Regions from separate parts of the Homo sapiens genome. Here regions 1, 3, 4, 5 and 6 are each linked to region 2. Evidence: promoter capture Hi-C in 16 types of primary human blood cells and fetal thymus (Javierre and others, 2016). All regions are on one chromosome and are shown on one strand. Each heading gives the region's core, a stretch centred on a gene start or on the middle of the fragment in contact. The rest is flanking DNA. Distances are from core to core; before and after follow the strand shown. Region 1 holds the start of GGT5 (gamma-glutamyltransferase 5). Region 2 holds the start of ADORA2A-AS1 (ADORA2A antisense RNA 1). Region 3 overlaps SPECC1L (sperm antigen with calponin homology and coiled-coil domains 1 like). Region 4 overlaps SPECC1L (sperm antigen with calponin homology and coiled-coil domains 1 like). Region 5 overlaps SPECC1L (sperm antigen with calponin homology and coiled-coil domains 1 like). Region 6 overlaps SPECC1L (sperm antigen with calponin homology and coiled-coil domains 1 like).

Evidence for each region. Contacts are between HindIII fragments. The CHiCAGO score rates a contact against its expected background, and 5 or more counts as called.
Region 1: the fragment with the promoter of GGT5 here is called in contact with the fragment with the promoter of ADORA2A-AS1 in region 2 in 4 of 17 cell types (naive B cells, monocytes, total CD4 T cells and 1 more); the score reaches 6.1 in naive B cells.
Region 3: a contact is called between a fragment that was not itself captured here and the fragment with the promoter of ADORA2A-AS1 in region 2, in 4 of 17 cell types (endothelial precursors, M0 macrophages, M1 macrophages and 1 more). The highest score is 6.2, in endothelial precursors.
Region 4: a fragment that was not itself captured here is called in contact with the fragment with the promoter of ADORA2A-AS1 in region 2 in 11 of 17 cell types (endothelial precursors, naive B cells, megakaryocytes and 8 more); the score reaches 8.3 in endothelial precursors.
Region 5: a contact is called between a fragment that was not itself captured here and the fragment with the promoter of ADORA2A-AS1 in region 2, in 4 of 17 cell types (endothelial precursors, monocytes, naive CD8 T cells and 1 more). The highest score is 5.7, in endothelial precursors.
Region 6: a contact is called between a fragment that was not itself captured here and the fragment with the promoter of ADORA2A-AS1 in region 2, in 13 of 17 cell types (endothelial precursors, M1 macrophages, total B cells and 10 more). The highest score is 9.7, in endothelial precursors.

Annotation. Positions count from the first base shown.
Region 1 is chr22:24,243,758-24,246,457 of GRCh38, reverse strand. It overlaps GGT5 (gamma-glutamyltransferase 5), which reads left to right and starts at 1,376. Exons shown (of 12, transcript NM_004121.5): 1 at 1,376-1,905. The coding sequence starts at 1,733. RefSeq lists enhancers at 1-371, 1,484-2,039, 2,040-2,595. The HindIII fragment of the contact is 5,279 bases long and covers 1-2,700 here.
Region 2 is chr22:24,493,737-24,496,436 of GRCh38, reverse strand. It overlaps ADORA2A-AS1 (ADORA2A antisense RNA 1), which reads left to right and starts at 1,363. Exons shown (of 7, transcript NR_028484.3): 1 at 1,363-1,747. It overlaps UPB1 (beta-ureidopropionase 1), which reads right to left and starts at 1,105. Exons shown (of 10, transcript NM_016327.3): 1 at 930-1,105. The coding sequence starts at 1,033. The HindIII fragment of the contact is 15,084 bases long and covers 422-2,700 here.
Region 3 is chr22:24,286,136-24,288,835 of GRCh38, reverse strand. The region is part of intron 2 of SPECC1L (sperm antigen with calponin homology and coiled-coil domains 1 like); the gene reads right to left. The region is part of intron 2 of SPECC1L-ADORA2A (SPECC1L-ADORA2A readthrough (NMD candidate)); the gene reads right to left. Among named protein-coding and RNA genes, the nearest start is that of SPECC1L, 17 kb to the right of the region's middle. The HindIII fragment of the contact is 2,156 bases long and covers 224-2,379 here.
Region 4 is chr22:24,338,734-24,341,433 of GRCh38, reverse strand. All of the region lies in intron 10 of SPECC1L (sperm antigen with calponin homology and coiled-coil domains 1 like), which reads right to left. The region is part of intron 10 of SPECC1L-ADORA2A (SPECC1L-ADORA2A readthrough (NMD candidate)); the gene reads right to left. Among named protein-coding and RNA genes, the nearest start is that of SPECC1L, 69 kb to the right of the region's middle. RefSeq lists an enhancer at 1,766-2,461. The HindIII fragment of the contact is 1,569 bases long and covers 610-2,178 here.
Region 5 is chr22:24,355,021-24,357,720 of GRCh38, reverse strand. All of the region lies in intron 11 of SPECC1L (sperm antigen with calponin homology and coiled-coil domains 1 like), which reads right to left. The region is part of intron 12 of SPECC1L-ADORA2A (SPECC1L-ADORA2A readthrough (NMD candidate)); the gene reads right to left. Among named protein-coding and RNA genes, the nearest start is that of ADORA2A, 71 kb to the left of the region's middle. The HindIII fragment of the contact is 4,757 bases long and covers 1-2,700 here.
Region 6 is chr22:24,303,645-24,306,344 of GRCh38, reverse strand. The region is part of intron 3 of SPECC1L (sperm antigen with calponin homology and coiled-coil domains 1 like); the gene reads right to left. The region is part of intron 3 of SPECC1L-ADORA2A (SPECC1L-ADORA2A readthrough (NMD candidate)); the gene reads right to left. Among named protein-coding and RNA genes, the nearest start is that of SPECC1L, 34 kb to the right of the region's middle. RefSeq lists a silencer at 2,430-2,700. The HindIII fragment of the contact is 599 bases long and covers 1,041-1,639 here.

The sequences.
Region 1 (2,700 bases), core at 127-2,626, 250 kb after region 2:
CGTCCCCCACGCTGCTGTCTCCACTGTTCCTGCTGCCCAGGCCTCTGAGCTTCCAGGACTGCAGCGGGTGGGTGGGTGGGCTGGCCTAAGCCCAGGAATGCACTTCAGCTCCTGGTTGAGCAATGTCACTGAGGCTTGGGAGTCGGGTGGGGGCGGGAGGAGGCATCCACAGGCCCCCCACCGCGAGAGGCAGCCGTGGGAACAGCCTGCCTCTAAACAATCATTCCAGTCCAGGCTGACCAGGGGCTCTGGCTGGACATAGGGGCCTGGCAGGCTGTGTGGCCTGTAAGGACACAGTCTGTCTCTGTGCCTCAGTTTCTCTGCTGCCCAGATGGGGGGGCCCGGCTTCCAGGTGTAGACATCTGGAGCAGGCAGTGTTCAGCTGGGGAGGAAGCGGGGAGGACTGTGGGGGCCACGTGGGAAGAAGTCCAGCCCACATCACCTGCACCCCTGCTGAGCCTGGTCAACAGAGCCCCTCAGTGGGTCCTCACTCTCCTGGCTGCCTCCCATTTAGGCACCCTGAGGCCTGGGGAGAACAGAGCCAGGCCAGTGTCCCTAGAGAGGCTGCGCTGCCAGCACAGTAATAGCGGATTTGGATTCAGGGAAGCAGACCCGCAGCTAGGGTGGGAAAGAGCTACAGGCAGGGCGTGGCCTCCACACAGCCTCCCTCCCTGGAGGTCCATGCTGCATTTCCAGGACAGCAAGTCCTGGACAAATGGTCCCGGATGCCAAGGGCTAGAGGCATGGTCTGTCTGCATTCCCCACATGGGCGTCTTGTAGTCACCAGCATTTGATGCTGTCAAGTCCCCCTGTCCTCTGTGCAGACTGGGAAGCCCTTGGCCACCCTGGGGAGTTGTGGGACCCAGGCCAGGCTGCAGAAGCATAAGGACTTGAACCCAAGTTTTAAGTGACACCACCTTGTGTCCCCCTCCCTCTGCCTCTGTTCAGCTCCACCTTGATGCTGACTAGGCTGGGCCATGAGGAGAGGGTTAGGGGATAGAGATGGGAGCTGGGGAGCAGGGCTCCACTCTGGGAGGGGGGCAGCCTTGCCGGATCCAGGGGAGAGAGTTGAGCGGCCCCAGCTCTGCTTTCCCAGAGCTGCCGGGAACCCGGGGAATGGTGTGGAGGTTCCAGGGAGCCCTGCCCCTACCTGGCAACCGCAGTGCAGCAGGCACCAAGTTCTCCTGCACATTGCGACAGTGTGACCCTGGGCTCTGGCGGGCGGTAGGTGGGGCCTTTGGACCTACTAGCAGTGAGGGAGTTAACACAGCAGCTGACTCCTCTAGGCAAGGAAAACTCCCCTCAGACGCTTTGCTGCCTGGCCTCCTGCCAGCAACAAGCAGGAGCTGAAAACCAGAAGTTGAGGCGTGAGTTTGGCCACTCCGTAGTGTGCACTTGGTGAGGGCAGCAGCTCGCCACAGCTGCCAGCCATCTGTCCATTCACCCATCTGTCCATCTGGCAGCCCGCTGTTCAGACCTGTCTGTCTGTCCGCCCATCTGTAAGCCCATCTCTGTCCCATTGTCTATCTGACCATCTTTCTCTTACTGTCCTCTTTGTCTAGCTATCTGGCCTATCTGTCGATCCATCTTCGTGTCTGTCTTCAGCCCCCACCTGTTTGTCCATCTGTCCAATTACCTGTGACTCTGTGCATCTTCTTGTCCATTCATCTGCCCACCCATCCGTCCCTCCGTCTGCCCACCAGCCGCCCCTCTCCTCCTGGGCTGCAGAGCCATGGCCCGGGGCTACGGGGCCACGGTCAGCCTAGTCCTGCTGGGTCTGGGGCTGGCGCTGGCTGTCATTGTGCTGGCTGTGGTCCTCTCTCGACACCAGGCCCCATGTGGCCCCCAGGCCTTTGCCCACGCTGCTGTTGCCGCCGACTCCAAGGTCTGCTCGGATATTGGACGGTGAGTGAGACGTGGGAGGAAGCTGGGTGGCCCTTGGCAGCCAGCCCCTCCTGGAGAAGGCGTGTGTGTGTGTGTGTGTGTGAGTGAATGTATGTGTGGGTGTGTGTGTGAGTGTCTGGGTATGTGTGATTGCATGCATGTGTGGGTGTGTGTGAGTGTATGTGAGTGTGAGTGTGGGGAGTGTGGGTGTGTGTGAATGTGTGTGATTGTGTGTGGGTATGTGTATGTGTGGGTGGGTGTGTGTGTGTGTGTGTGTGCACGTGCACTGGCCCAGGAAGCAGGAGCCGTGTGTGTGTGGGCTTCAGCACCTGCAGGTCTTGGGCGCAAGGAGGCAGCCTCAGGGCCCTTGCACAGAACAGGTGGCAGGGTGTGCTCGTGGGGCAGATGGGGACTTGGGGACAATGGTGGTGTGTGAGTCCACGCCTGGCTCCAGGATTCAGGAGGCCCATTTGCATATCCCAGGTGGGAACCTGTCTGGCCCCGCCTGACCCTGCTGGCCGGTGCAGGCCCCTTCAGTGAGGCCAATTCTCCAAGGCTGCGGTCTTCTCCCAGGGTCATGGGTGAAGGGGTTTGGAGGCTCCCTGCGTGGGTACTGGCCTGCTGGGGTACACACAATGCTGCCATAGCCAGTCTGCCCCAACACCCAGCCTGGGGCCACATCTCGGGTCTCTCAGTCCTGAGGAGCCCGGTGCCCCACCCCTCACATCCTCTCTCCCTGAGTCAGGGCCTGGGTCTCGTGAGCTGAGTGACTGATACTTGGTGTCCTGGATGAGGGCGTGGTGGAGAGGGGCCACA
Region 2 (2,700 bases), core at 114-2,613:
ATCCAAAGACGTGTGTGTGTGTGTGTGTGTGTATGTGTGTGTGTGTGTGTGTGTGTGTGTGTGTTTGAGACAGGGCCTCACTCTGACTCCCAGGCTGGAGTGCAGAGGAGAGATTTTGGCTCACTGCAGCCTCGACCTCCCAAGCTCAAGTGATCCTCCCGCCTCAGCCTGCCATGTAGCTAGGACTACAGATGCATGCTACCATGCTTGGCTATTTTTTTAAATGCTTTATAGAGATGGGTGTCTCACTATGTTGCCCAGGCCGGTCTCGAACTCCTGAGTTCAAGCAATCTTCCAGCCCTGGCCTCCCAAAGTGCTGAGATTACAGGTGTGAGCCCGGCCAGGAAGTGTCTTTTTCAGCTTTGTGGACACAGTGTCCAGCAGTATACAGCCCTCAGAAAGTCCTGGTGATGCACAAGCTTGCAGGGAGTGGAAAAACCAGCGCCCATGGCTTGCCAGTGGGAAAGGTTCCCTCGCCAACTAAATGCAGACAGCCTCTATTTCCAAGGGTCAGCCAGAGGTCGGGTCACCGCAAGAAGGATGGTCTGGGGCCGGACAATCAGTACACCTGCTGGGTGCTCTGGTTGGAGACAGTGATCCAGCCAGACATCCAGAAGACAAGCCCGGCTCCGGGGAGGAGGGTTGGGATGGCCACAGAGAAAGCCCTGGAGAGTAAAATCCCGTCCTTTTCCTTCCGGTTCTGGGCAACGTGGGGGAGAAGAGATTTGTAAAGGTCACGCCAGGATTCTGCAACCCCCAAGGACCCCGGGGCCGTCCCATCAAGACCTACTATGGTCTCTGCCCGCCAACTCAGGACTTCTCACCGCCTCCCCTGAGCCCTTCAGACCCTGAGGCCCTCCCTGCCTGCTCCCCCAGACCCACACTCTGTGGCCCCAAGACCCCATTAGCTTAGCCTCTTGGCTGCGGACCTGAGTTCCTTGCCATAGAGAACGCGCTTCACTTCCTGCAAGTCGGGGAGCGGCAGGTGCTTCTCCAAGCATTCCTCCAGCGACTTCCACTCAGCGCCCGCCATGGCCACGGTCCGCCAGTGCTTGTGTCCGCGCACGAACTGCCTGCCCTTTGCCCGCAGTGGGAGGAGGTGCCCAGGCCCGGTCAGGCGCCCTTGCCTTTATCTCTTACTCTCGCTCCCAGACAGCTCAAGTGAGGACACGCCACTTCCTCGCGCAGCCAATCCGCCTTCCAGGGCTTCGCGGGTGGGACCGCCCCTGGCCTTTAGCGCTCCTTCGGCACGTGCCAGGACACGTTCCTCTTGCCGCCTCCGCAGCACACGGCCAATCAGCCTCCAGGGCCTCACGTGGGGAGGGGGCGAAAGGATCCGGCGCTTGCCCTTCGCCCCTTGCCCTTCGCCTCTCGGTTAGCAAGCGATGAGGCACGCCCCTCCACAGGCGGGACTGCGCGGAGTCGTCGCGCCTCGGCTGCGAGTCAGGACTGAGGCTGTCCCCCTCCCGCCTCCCTCAGGGGCCCTGGCGCGGGTGCCTCCAGGTTCCACCCCTCACCTGCCCCTTGGTGTCGGGCCGGGACCCTGGAGAGGTCGTGAGGGAGTCCTGGGCGCGGGCTCCGGGAGGCTGCGGCGCGGGTCTGAGGTAAACGGCCCGGCCGCTGCGGGCCCTTGCGGGGGCTGGTTCCAGCAGCAACCGCCGGGCAGGGCCCCTCCCGACCGCGACCTCCTGTCCGCACCGTAGGGCAGCCGGCCGGGCCAGCCTCCCTCACAGGACTACCGAGGAAGGTAAGGGAAGAGTTTCAGTGTCCCACGGGCACGCGGCGGCTGCACCTCTGTCGTCCGGAGCCTTTATGTCTGGGGAGTTTTAACCCCCGAGGGGCCAGGCTCGGAGTCCATGCCGCTACCTGGGTCGCGCGTTCCCACCCCCGGCTTTGGGGCCGCTGGAGCCGAAGGTCAGTTGCTCGCCTGCGGTTCCGTGCGCCTCGGTGGAGCTAATATTGTAAAATGCGGGGTCCCCGGGTGAGGGCGCGCCCCCTGCACCCTAGGGCCCCTTTTCAGCCCTGCCCTCTGCCGCGTGTGTGCAAATATGGGCACTTTCCTGCGGTAGGGTGCGCTTTAAACTGTCACTGAGATGGTAGGAGTGAGAGCCCCATTTGCTGTTACCGCGAATCCAGAGGGTGCCATCCCTTCAGGAGCAAAGAAGCGTCCTCTTTGGGGTCCTATTGAGAATTAGGGCAGTAAGGCCCGCTTACTTCGGCGGGCAGCCGGGTGAAGGAACCAGTCTGTAGAAATCCTATTCAGCCACTTGTAAACCTTGTGACCCCAGGAAAGTTTAACTTAGTCGCTGGAGGCTTCTGTTGCTTTATCTGTAAAATAGGAATGCAAAGATTACGCTGCGGGGTTGTTTAAAAGTCAGAAAAGGCCAGCACGGTGGCTCATGCCTGTAAACCCAGCACTTTGGGAGGCCTAGAAAGGGGTATTGTTTGAGGCCAGGAACTCCAGACCAGCCTGGGTAACACAGCAAGACCCTGTATCTACAAAATAATGTTTTACAAATTAGCCTATCATGGTGGTGCGCACCTGCTTCTTGGGAGGCAGAGGTGAGAGGATCGCTTGAGCCCAGGAGTTCGAGGCTCCCTAGCTATGATCTTAACACTGCACTTCAGCCTGGGCAACAGAGTGAGACGCAATCTCAAAGAAAAAAAAAAAAGAGGCAAGTAAAATGAGCACAAAGGGAG
Region 3 (2,700 bases), core at 52-2,551, 210 kb after region 2:
TGACCAACATGGTGAAAACCCGTCTCTACTAAAAGTACAAAAATTAGCCAAGTGTGGTGGCAGACACCTGTAATTCCAGCTACTGAGGAAGCTGAGGCAGGAGAATCGCTTGAACCCAGGAGGCAGAAGTTGCAGTGAGCCAAGATCACGCCATTGCACTCCAGCCTGGGCAACAGAGCAAGGATATGTCCAAAAAAAAAAAAAAAAAAAAAAAAAAAAAGCTTAAAATTTTGGATTTGAGAAGTCTTTCTAAACTAAATAAGTTAAAATAGAATTCAAATTCAGTGTAGTAAAAACTAAGTCTTTTTTTCAACAAGCATTTCACTGGTTAGGTTAAAAAGAAATTAATAAAAAATGCTAAGAAGTTCTTTTTCCCTGTGTCTAGTGAGTATAAAGCAGTGGTACTTAATGAGGGGTAGGGGACAATTTTGTACCCTAGGGGATATTTGGCACTTCCTGTACACATTTTTCGTTGTCACAACTGGGTGGGAGGCAAGGTGCTACAGACAGTGAGTGTGTAAGAGGCCAGGAATCCTAGTAAACTCCCTACAACACACTGGACAGCCCCCCACGACAAAGAATTATACAGCCTAAAATATCAATACAGTCAAGGCTGGGAAACCTTGGTATAAGGGGACTGGTTAAACTTGGAAGGAAGGGTTTGTCTTTCTGTAAATCGTTCCGTAAAAAAGGTCTCATGTGTACAGACAATCTGCTGAGAAAGCCACAGTTCTGGCAGCTGGCAGAGCTGAAAGAGAAGGGAAAATCTATGCACAGGGCCCTTGGATTTCCACCCATATTCCCCAGGAAAGGATACAGTTCCAGGAAGGGCTCTCTCTGATCTCCCGGAATGAAATCTGAGATGAACCACAGGGCCTTATTGCTTACCTGTACCTCCTTTTTGTAGTTTCCAGCTGGCCTGGCACAGACTGACAACCCCAAATGGATGGTCGAAATCCACTGTTCTCCAGTCCCTCTCAAACCTCACCGGCAAGAAGGAAAGAAACTAAACCCCGAGGGCCCATTATATTCCAGCGGGGTCCTAGGGATTCCACACTCATTCAGTTCCTTTACATCATAAGAAGTGGGTATTATAATATCAGATCCACTGTAAAAGGTGATCCCGAAGCAAATGGTAGAGCAGGAGTCTGAATAGGGGCACCTCCAACAGCCACATCCACCCCACCACAGCTCCCAGGGGTTTCTTTCTAATCTCAAGGGTGGCCTATACCCTGGGACTATAGGGGGCCTTGGTGTGCTAAATCTTCAGAGACATTTTTAAACGGTCAAGACGCCTCTTGGCGACTGGAAGAAGTTCCTGACCTCGCGGCATTCCCTCCTTCCCATCCCCACTACCACACCAATCCTATGCCAGCCTGTCTGTGTCAGGGAAGAAGTCCAGCTGGACAACTCTGGCAGCCTCCTGTCGCCCTCCCCTGCCAGCAATCCTTCTGTGCCACAGCTGTGTGTCCACACTCTAAAGCACACATCCCACCAGGCCACTCTCCTGTAAAATAATGCCTCACTGTCCCAGGCCAAATACCCCAGCGCCGATACCTGCTTCTTCAAATCCAGGCTCCAACCCATCCCTCCATCTCATTTCCATTTTACGTGCACACATAGTCACACACTCTCACATACCCACACTTTGGCTCCTACTGTTCCTACCCCTGAAAACCCCTTACCACTTTCCTCCCTGAGAAATAACTGCTCGTGCATCACTTCAGGACTCAGCTCCACTGCCGTGTCCTTAGTGATACCTTCCCTTGTCTCTAGTTGGTTGGCCCCCCATCCCTCTTACCTTTCTGGCCACAGCACTCACCTAAGTGTCTTTTATCCAGACAACATTTAGGGTATACTTAGACCAAAAAAGTCATCACTATTTATCTGAAATTCACATTTACTTATTTTTAATTTTCATTTTTTTGGAGACAGGGTCTCGCTTTGTAGCCCAGGCTGGAGTGCAGTGGCGCGATCTCAGCTCACTGTAACCTCTGCCTGCAGGGTTCAAATGATTCTTCTGCCTCAGCCTCTTACTTGAAAAACAGACAAAAGCAAAGCTATGATGTGAATAGCCTGAATTACTGCAAAAAGTACATGAATGTCAGAAGTAAATCCTAACTCTTACTAGATAGGTCAGTTAATCAGTGACACAGTTCACGGCCTGTTATTAAGATATCCTATAACTGAGTCTAGAACTTTACTCACTTCTTAGTGGTAGGACAAAGATATAAGACAGAAAAAGAGGAAAGCAGTAAAAAGTACTTCCTTTCAAATTCAAAATGTCATGGTCCATACTTCCTTGTTAAAATGCCGAAACACACCATATGACTCAATTATTAATACAATAATTTTGCTGTTACCAACTTAGGATAAGCTTCACCTATGTCTTTATCTCAGGAGCAATGTATTGCAAGTTCAAGCAATAAAGTGTAATTACATGCGAGAATGTCAATATAACATAACCAATCAGGTACTAAAAAAACAGAATATGTAAAATAACTATGATGTTTCTTCCCAATATTTCATTCTCATTTTTAAAAAGTAAACTTTCAGAACAGTACTGTAAGACATAAGCAAACTTTGACTTTCAGTAAAAGGTTACTACTAACAGCAAGTGTCAAGAATAGACTACCATGCAGATTTCACTGCAGCTTACCCCCACTTTATCAGATGGAAGTCTTAAATCTAAGCCTTCGA
Region 4 (2,700 bases), core at 145-2,644, 160 kb after region 2:
AAAGAGGTGTCTCCACAGCGGCTGGTGGGAACTCAAATGATTTCCTGCCCTAGGTGAGCTACCAGAAGTGTTTGTGTGATAGCTCCCTGTTCCTGGAAATTGTTCCTGGAAAATTATTCTTGCGGGGCTGTTCCTGGAAAATTATCCTTGTGGGGTTTCACCCAATGCAGGTGCAGGTTGGTATTCAGGAAAAGACTCAAAGGGATGCCTACGCAGATTTCTATACTCCTTTCTCTATGCAGCTCCCTCCTCCCAGTATCTGCCCTGCAAATTCGAGCAGTCGCCTTCTCCTTGAATGTTGATTTGTGTCTACTCAGATCCAATTGGTTTTCTCTTCCCTGCTCCATGTAGGTTCATCTTCCCTGCACCACCACCTGGAAATTGCCTCCAGGAAAAGACTGTGGGCCACAGTAGGACTTACCTCATTTTAAAATTTTTGTTCAGGGATCACAGTTACGTACAATGTCTGAAAATAATTGTTTCTTATATTTTGTCCATCTTTCTATTAATCGTTGTTTGTGATGGCAGAATAATCCAGCCTGTTACTCCCACATAGCTAGAAGTAGAATTCCTACCCAGGGAGTTTTGAAAAACTAACAATCCCAAGCTTAGGCCCCAGTCCCCAGAGATTATGGTTTACCAGGATGAGGTCTGGGAATTTTACCTGTTTAAAAACTCTCCACATGATTTTTATATACGATTAGGTTTGAGACGCACTGTACTAACTAATCATGTACTAAAAAGCTACTGAATGTAGCTCATAAGTATTAGTTTTTTGCAACTTGTAGAAATATTTTTCACCTCCTATCTTTACAAAGATTTACAAAGTGATGCCTCATACATTAAACGTCAACTGATAAACACCACTTAAAGTTCATCTTATTTGAAGTTTATTACATTTGGCATCTTTATTTTGCTTTTATCTATATTTTCAGAATTTTAGATGAAGTTTGATTAATAGAGAGCACATAAAAAAAGCATTAAATCAGCTGCGCACAGTGGCTCACGCCTGTAATCCCAGCACTTTGGAAGGCTGAAGAGGGCAGATTGCTTGAGGTCAGGAATTTGAGACCAGCTTGGCCAACGTGGTTAAAACCGTCTCTACTAAAAATACAAAAATTAGCTGGGTGTGGTGGTGCACACCTGTAATCCTGGCTACTTGGAGGCTGAGGCATGAGAATCACTTGAACCCAGGAGGTGGAGGTTGCAGTGAGCCGAAATCATGCCATTTCATTCCAGCCTGGGCAACAGAGTGAGACTCCGTCTCAAAAAAAAAAAAAAAAAAAAAAAAAAGGTCATTAAATTGGTGGAACAGTATTCCCTTCCCTTCTTTTTAAATTACGACATAATGTCAGGCGTGGTAGCTCATGTCTGTAATCCCAGCACTTTGGGAGGACCAGGCAGGTGGATTACCTGAGCTCAGGAGCTCAAGACCAGCCTGGGCAACGTGGCAGAACCCTGTCTTTACCAAAAACACAGAAAACAGCCAGGCATGGTGGTGCACGCCTGTGGTCCCAGCTACTTGGGAGGCTGAGGTGGGAGGACTGGTTGGGCCTGGGAGGCAGAGGTTGTGCAGTGAGCCGAGATCATGCAACTACACTCCAATCTGGGTGACAGAGGGAGACCCCGTTTCGGGGTAAAAAAAAAAGGACATAACATCTTGTATATACATGCAAATGCAAAGCCACGAACTCACAATATAAATGCGGAGGGAGCACACTAGTAAACACAGCACAAATGTCTCAACTCGAAAATGCTCCCCAACACCATTATTTTAGGGAAGAGGTGCAGCCAGGGCTACCCTTTATCACAGGATAATGGGGTTTAGGCAATGTTTCCTTTGGCTACTCTCACCTATGTGGAAATACTCCGCCTCAACTATACTGTCCAAAAGCGGCTGAATAAAATGCACAATGAGCGGCCTCTTGAGCACTACTGAATAGCCCTCTGCCCCGCTTCTCATCTGCATTCCACAATGGCACGGAGGAGCAACTTTTAAAACTTGTTTCTAATGTATCAATAATGACCTGTGCCGGACCTGTTACAAAACAGCCCTCATGAATCATGCTTCTCTGAATTCATGCCTTGTGCACCCCTTCCACTCTGAATCGCAGCTGCCCTGTGACTTGCTTGGATTAAAATAGCAGGACAGAAGTGTCACTGTCCAAGTTCCAAGCTTAGGTCTTCAGAGGCTTTGCTAACTTTCATTTTCAGTCTCTTGGAGCTGGAGATAACCATGCTGTGAAGGAGCCTGAGAAGACAAATCACATGAAGAAAGCAGCCCAGGAATCCTGCTGAGCCCAGGCCCCATCCCACCTTCTCTGTGAATTCAACTGCAGGAATGAGCCCAGGAAAGCCAGCAAAGAATTGCCTAGTCAACTCAGAGAAATGTGAAAACTAACAAAACTGTTCTTTCAAGCCACTAAGTTCTGAAGTGATTTGCTATGCAGTAAAGGCTGAGACATGGCAACCACATATTCTACTCAAGAGACACCTTTGTGTCTTAGTGTAGTGACTAAAGTCACTGAATCCAGACAGCCTAACTCTGAACCCCTACTCTACCACTTAATTGCATGAACCTCGGCAAGTTACTTAACCTTTCTGGGCCTCAGTAACCACATGTGAAAAATACAGATAAGAACAGTACCTAATACCCAAGAGTTGTAAGGATTAAATGAGTTAACATTATAAAGTATTCAG
Region 5 (2,700 bases), core at 77-2,576, 140 kb after region 2:
TTCTGCCCTGAGGGTAATCACAGCAACAATAAACCTCAAACCCAGCCCAGCTCCTGAGCAGATTAACTCAAACTCCCACATTTAAAGACCTAAGTAGAAGAAAAAAGGTGTCCATTTCAAGGCATAAAATCAACTACTATCCATGTAAGATGTCTAGCTTTCAATAAAGAATTGTAAAATATACAAAAAGCCAAGAAAAAGCCAACATACCCAGCTCACTACACCAGAACACAAAGTAATCAATAAAACCAAATGGTACGGATGTTGGAACTATCTATAAAGCATTTAAAATAACTATGATTAATATATCATTTTATATTTTTATAGAGATGAAGTCTCACTATGTTGCTCAGGCTAGTCTTAACTTCTTGGCTCAAGCAATCTTCTTGCCTTGGCCTCCCTGAGTGCTGGGATTACAGGTGTGAGCCAGTTTCCAGCCTCAGCCTTAAAAAGAAATTGTTTCATGCCACAAAATGGATGAACCTTGAAAACATGATATTAAGTGAAACAAGGTCTCTAAGGGAAAAGGCAGACAATATGCAAGATTGGCTAGGATTTCCTACTTGATTTTCTCTTATAGCTTCCATCTCTCTGCTGAAATTAGACAAATAAAACTGTGAAAACTGTATCTCTGATTTTCAACTGTGGGCAAATTTGCCCCCCCAGGGGATTATTAGAGTATCACCCCCATTCCCCCAGTTGTGACAACCAAAAATTAGAGGCATTTTTTGGTTGTCATAACTGGGGAGATGGGGGTGATACTGGGACTCTGGTGGGTAGAGAGCAGGGATACTGCTAAACTTCCTGTAATGCATAAAACAATCCCCCACAACAGTTATGTGGACGCCAATAAAGGCAAGGCTGACAAACCCTAACCTAAGGCAACCACTGAAAGAATTTAATGGATACAAATAATAAGTCAGTAGGAGAGATAAAACAAAGTAATAACAAATGGTCAATGGACCCAAGAGAAGGCAGAAAAAGGAAAAAGAAGCAGAATAGATGGGTCAAATACAAAACACGACAAGGTGGTAGATTTTAATCTAACCATAATAATAATCATATTAAACGAGAATGGTCTAAATCCACCAATTAAAAGACAAAATGTCAGAATGAATAAAAAAGACTGAACTATATACCGTCTACAAGAAACTTACTTTAAATCTAAAGACATAGATAAATTAAAAGGATGGAAAAAAATATACCATGCAAGCACTAACAGAAGGTTGGAGTAGGTACATCAATATCAGAAAAGAAAGACTTCAGAACAAGGGACATTATCAGAGATTTAAAAAATATAATAATAATAATAAAGGGGCTAGTTCTCTAAGAAGACATAACACATTCCCAAATGGGTATGCATCTACCAACAGAACTTTAAGATACATGAGGTAAAACCTGATAGAACTAAAAGGAGAAATAGAAATCCACAACTAGACTTTCAGAGTTCAAGACTATTCTCTCAGTAATTCCTAGAAACGAGCAGACAGAAATGAGTAAATACAGAAGACCCAGACTTGAACAATACAACCAACTAGATCTAACTGATATTTATAAAACACTCTGCCCAATAACAGCAAAATAAAAACATGCTGCCAAGTGAGAGAAGCCAGACTTAAAAAAAAAGCTGTATGCTGTATGATTTGATTTATATGACAGTCTAGAAAAGGTACAACTGTAGGGATGAAAAACATATCAGTGGTTGCTAGGGAATGGGGTGTATGGTAGGGGTTGACTACAAAGGGGCAGCATGAAGGAATTTTGGGGGTGATGGAACTCTTGTGTACAGAACTGTGTAACTATGATGACAGACAAATGGCTATGTGTTTGTCAAAACCCACAAAACTGTATACCAGATAGTGTAAATTTTACTGTATGTAAATTAAAAAAAAAACAGAACGGGGGGAGGGAGGGAGAGAAGGGGAGGAGAACAGAATGCAGACTATGACAAATTAATCTGACTGCATTACGAAACCATGACAGACCAACTGAAGTGAGTAGGGAAAAAGGAACTGGCTTAAGTAACTTTGTATATGTATAGTAAGGTTGAACAAATACATAAATATATTGTAGATAATGAGAGCCAAGTTTCTCACCCCCAAAAGAAAGAAGTTATAAGTAAGGGAAGGGAAAATTCTGGAATGAACCCATTGGTGATGGCTTGGAGTCAGGTATGAGTATAAACTTACAGTTTTTGATAGACAGGCAGACAGACAGACAAATAAGATAGTTAGATAGGTAGGTAGGTAGGTAGGTGGGTGGGTGGATAGGTAGGTAGACAGACAGACAGACAGGATAGTGTATACACATGAGTTGGTACATATACATACAATTTCCCTAGTTCTATCCAGAGAGGGACTAAAGGCTGTGAAACCCCAGTAGCAATGAGCACATTTAGCACCTGGATCTTGGTTTCCTTTTTTTTTTTTTTTTTTTTTTGAGATGGAGTCTCACTCTGTTGCCAAGCTGGAGTGCAGTGGCACGATCCTGGCTCATTGCAACCTCTGCCTCCCAGGTTCAAGTAATTCTCATGCCTCAGCCTCCTGAGTACCTGGGACTACAGGTGCACACCACCACGCTCAGCTAATTAATTTTTGTATTTTTAGTAGAGACAGGGTTTCACCATGTTTGCCAGGATGGTCTGGATCTCTTGACCTCCTGATCCGCCCACCTCGGCCTCCCAAAGTGCTGGGATTACAG
Region 6 (2,700 bases), core at 91-2,590, 190 kb after region 2:
ATGTTGTATGTATTTTTCCACAATAAAAAAAAAAGTTTGGAAAAAAAAAAGACAACGGAAAAATGGGCAAGTGACTTGAACAGGCACTTCATAGAAGAGGGTCTAAATGTCCACTGAGCACATAAAAAGAATGTATAAGGCCGGGTGCAGTGGCTCATGCCTGTAATTCCAGCACTTTGGGAGGCCGAGGTGGGTGGATGACCTGAGGTCGGGAGTTCAAGACCAGCCTGACCAACATGGAGAAACCCCGTCTCTACTAAAAATACAAAAAATTAGCCAGGCGTGGTGGCACATGCCTGTAATCCCAGCTACTCGGGAGGCTGAGGCAGGAGAATCGCTTGAACCCGGGAGGCGGAGATGGCGCCATTGCACTCCAGCCTGGGCAACAAGAGTGAAACTCCATCTCAAAAAAAAAAAAAAGATTGTATGAAAAGGTATTCAATCTTACTGGTAACGATGCAAATTAATGCCACTGCTCCATTCCTTTATACATCCGTGAGTGCTTAACATGAAAGGAGTAACAATTTAAGTACAGGAGAAAATGTGAAGTAACCAGGAGTGTAAACTGGTAACCACCTTGAGAAATGATTTTCTTCTATCTATAACATTAAAGCTGAACATAGGTATACTCTACGGTCCAGTAATTTCACTCCTCATTCTAGAACCAACACAAATGGGTGCACATGTGTATTAATACACACATATAAGAATGTTCATAACAATAATACTCATAACCACAGAGAAGAAACTCCAAAAGTCTGCCAATAGTAGTAAAAGTCTGCCAATAGCAGAAGAGATGAACAAACTGTGGTATATTCATCCCATGGATTACTAACCAACAATGAAAAGGAAGTGACCGCTGCTAGATGCAACAGTACAGATAAGAAACCAGACACACATAAAAAGAACATAGTGTGTGACTACGTTCCTGTAAAGATCAAAAACTGGCAAAAATCATCTCTGGTGCTAGAAGTTAGAATGGTAGTTACTTTGGGGGAGGACAGGAAGGGCAATGATTAAGCAGAGGCACGGTGGAAGCTTCTGAGGGGCACATATGTTCTGTTTCTTGAACTAGGTGGTGACTGAAGGACATGTTTCATTTTGTGATGATTCACTAAACTCAACACCTGTGTTTTGTGGACTTTGCTGTACGTATGCTTTACTTCAACAAAAAAAGTCAAAACAAAACAAAACACAACTCTGCATTTTCCAACTTACCTTTTACCCTAAGCTACTAGCAGGCTCTCTGCTATTTTTCCCTATTTCTTTTAATTTTTGCTACAAAATTCTGTAAAGGCATGTGCATTCTCACACATAAACACCCCCCATCAGTAAGTCTAAAAACATGAAATGGATGAAGGAATAAATGTTCAGCCTACTCTTTGTAACTGATGCAAAATGCAAATAATTTGGTACAAGCATTCCGGACACAAATAATGAAATACTACAACCAGGTACGTATACTTCTCTAAGTCAAGCCCAAGTTTCACATGCATCTTTCTCTCAAATTTGAAGATTTGTTATCAAATTTTACCTTTCAAGTTTCCGAGGAGGATTGTTCATACAATTAACAAATGTTTACACTGTATGACCACAAATAATCATGGAGAAATATCAATTATAGATTCTAACTGAAGCTTATTAATTCATGTCTGTAATTTTTAGAAAAAATTATCATCAGTATAATGGAAAAGTATATTACTTCAAAAGAACTAATCATGAACACCTGAACAGTAAGTGAACCCTGCAAAGCGTAGGCATGCAGGAAACCCTCTCTACATGGAAAATAATCCTCTCCACTGACTGTGACCAAGGAGAATTAAGCATACAAAGGCTGCAAGCCCAATGACACAGCTCCTGACAGAAGTGGGAATAATGTCTCCAAAACTCACTGTGAGCAGCAGTAGTGTTTTGTATTTACAAAAGCTCCAACCAGCAGTGAAGTGTCCTGGATCAAAAGAGTCCTTCCCCTTAACCCTCAACTACATCTAGCCTCAAACAATACTTGAAATGAGAGGTGAAGAAATGCATATCCTGTATCCTGTCACTACAAGAAGAGAGTCATGAGAATATTGTGCAGTGACAGACACACAGGTGTGGGTGTCCATAAATGAATGGGTGTGTGCACATGCTGTCTCAATAATTAAGCCAAACACTTCATTCATCTGGTTAATCATCAATGCTCCATGACAGTTAAAGGAATTCAAATTGTAGGAAGTATCTAGGTGCCAGAGAAGCACAGGAAAAAAAAAAGTTAGAAAAATAAAATAACACTGTGGGGTCTCAAAGCCCTTCAATGTTTTCCATTTTTTTCCCACTATTTTCTTCTTTCCTTCTCTGTTTTTACTTTAATCTCCATTTAATGACTTTTTCCTTCCCCTCTCTTAAGTGAAGGCAATTGCTCCACTCCAGGAAAAGTGTTGCCAAATAGTTTTACCTCTGTCCTGACCTTCCTGCTACACACACACACACACACACACACACACACACACACACACACCCTATTTAAACTTGTTAATGCAGCAGAGCCAAAGCTATGGACAGCTGGCATGTGCTGGCAAGAGTAAGTGTACAGTTTTGCTTTACAGTGGAAAAGTACTCACTGTTCAAGACCAAATTCCCAGCAACTCCAGATCCAAGACTCAGAAGGTGTAACATGCCTGCTCAGTGCACATTCCATAGTAAACCTCCAAAGACACT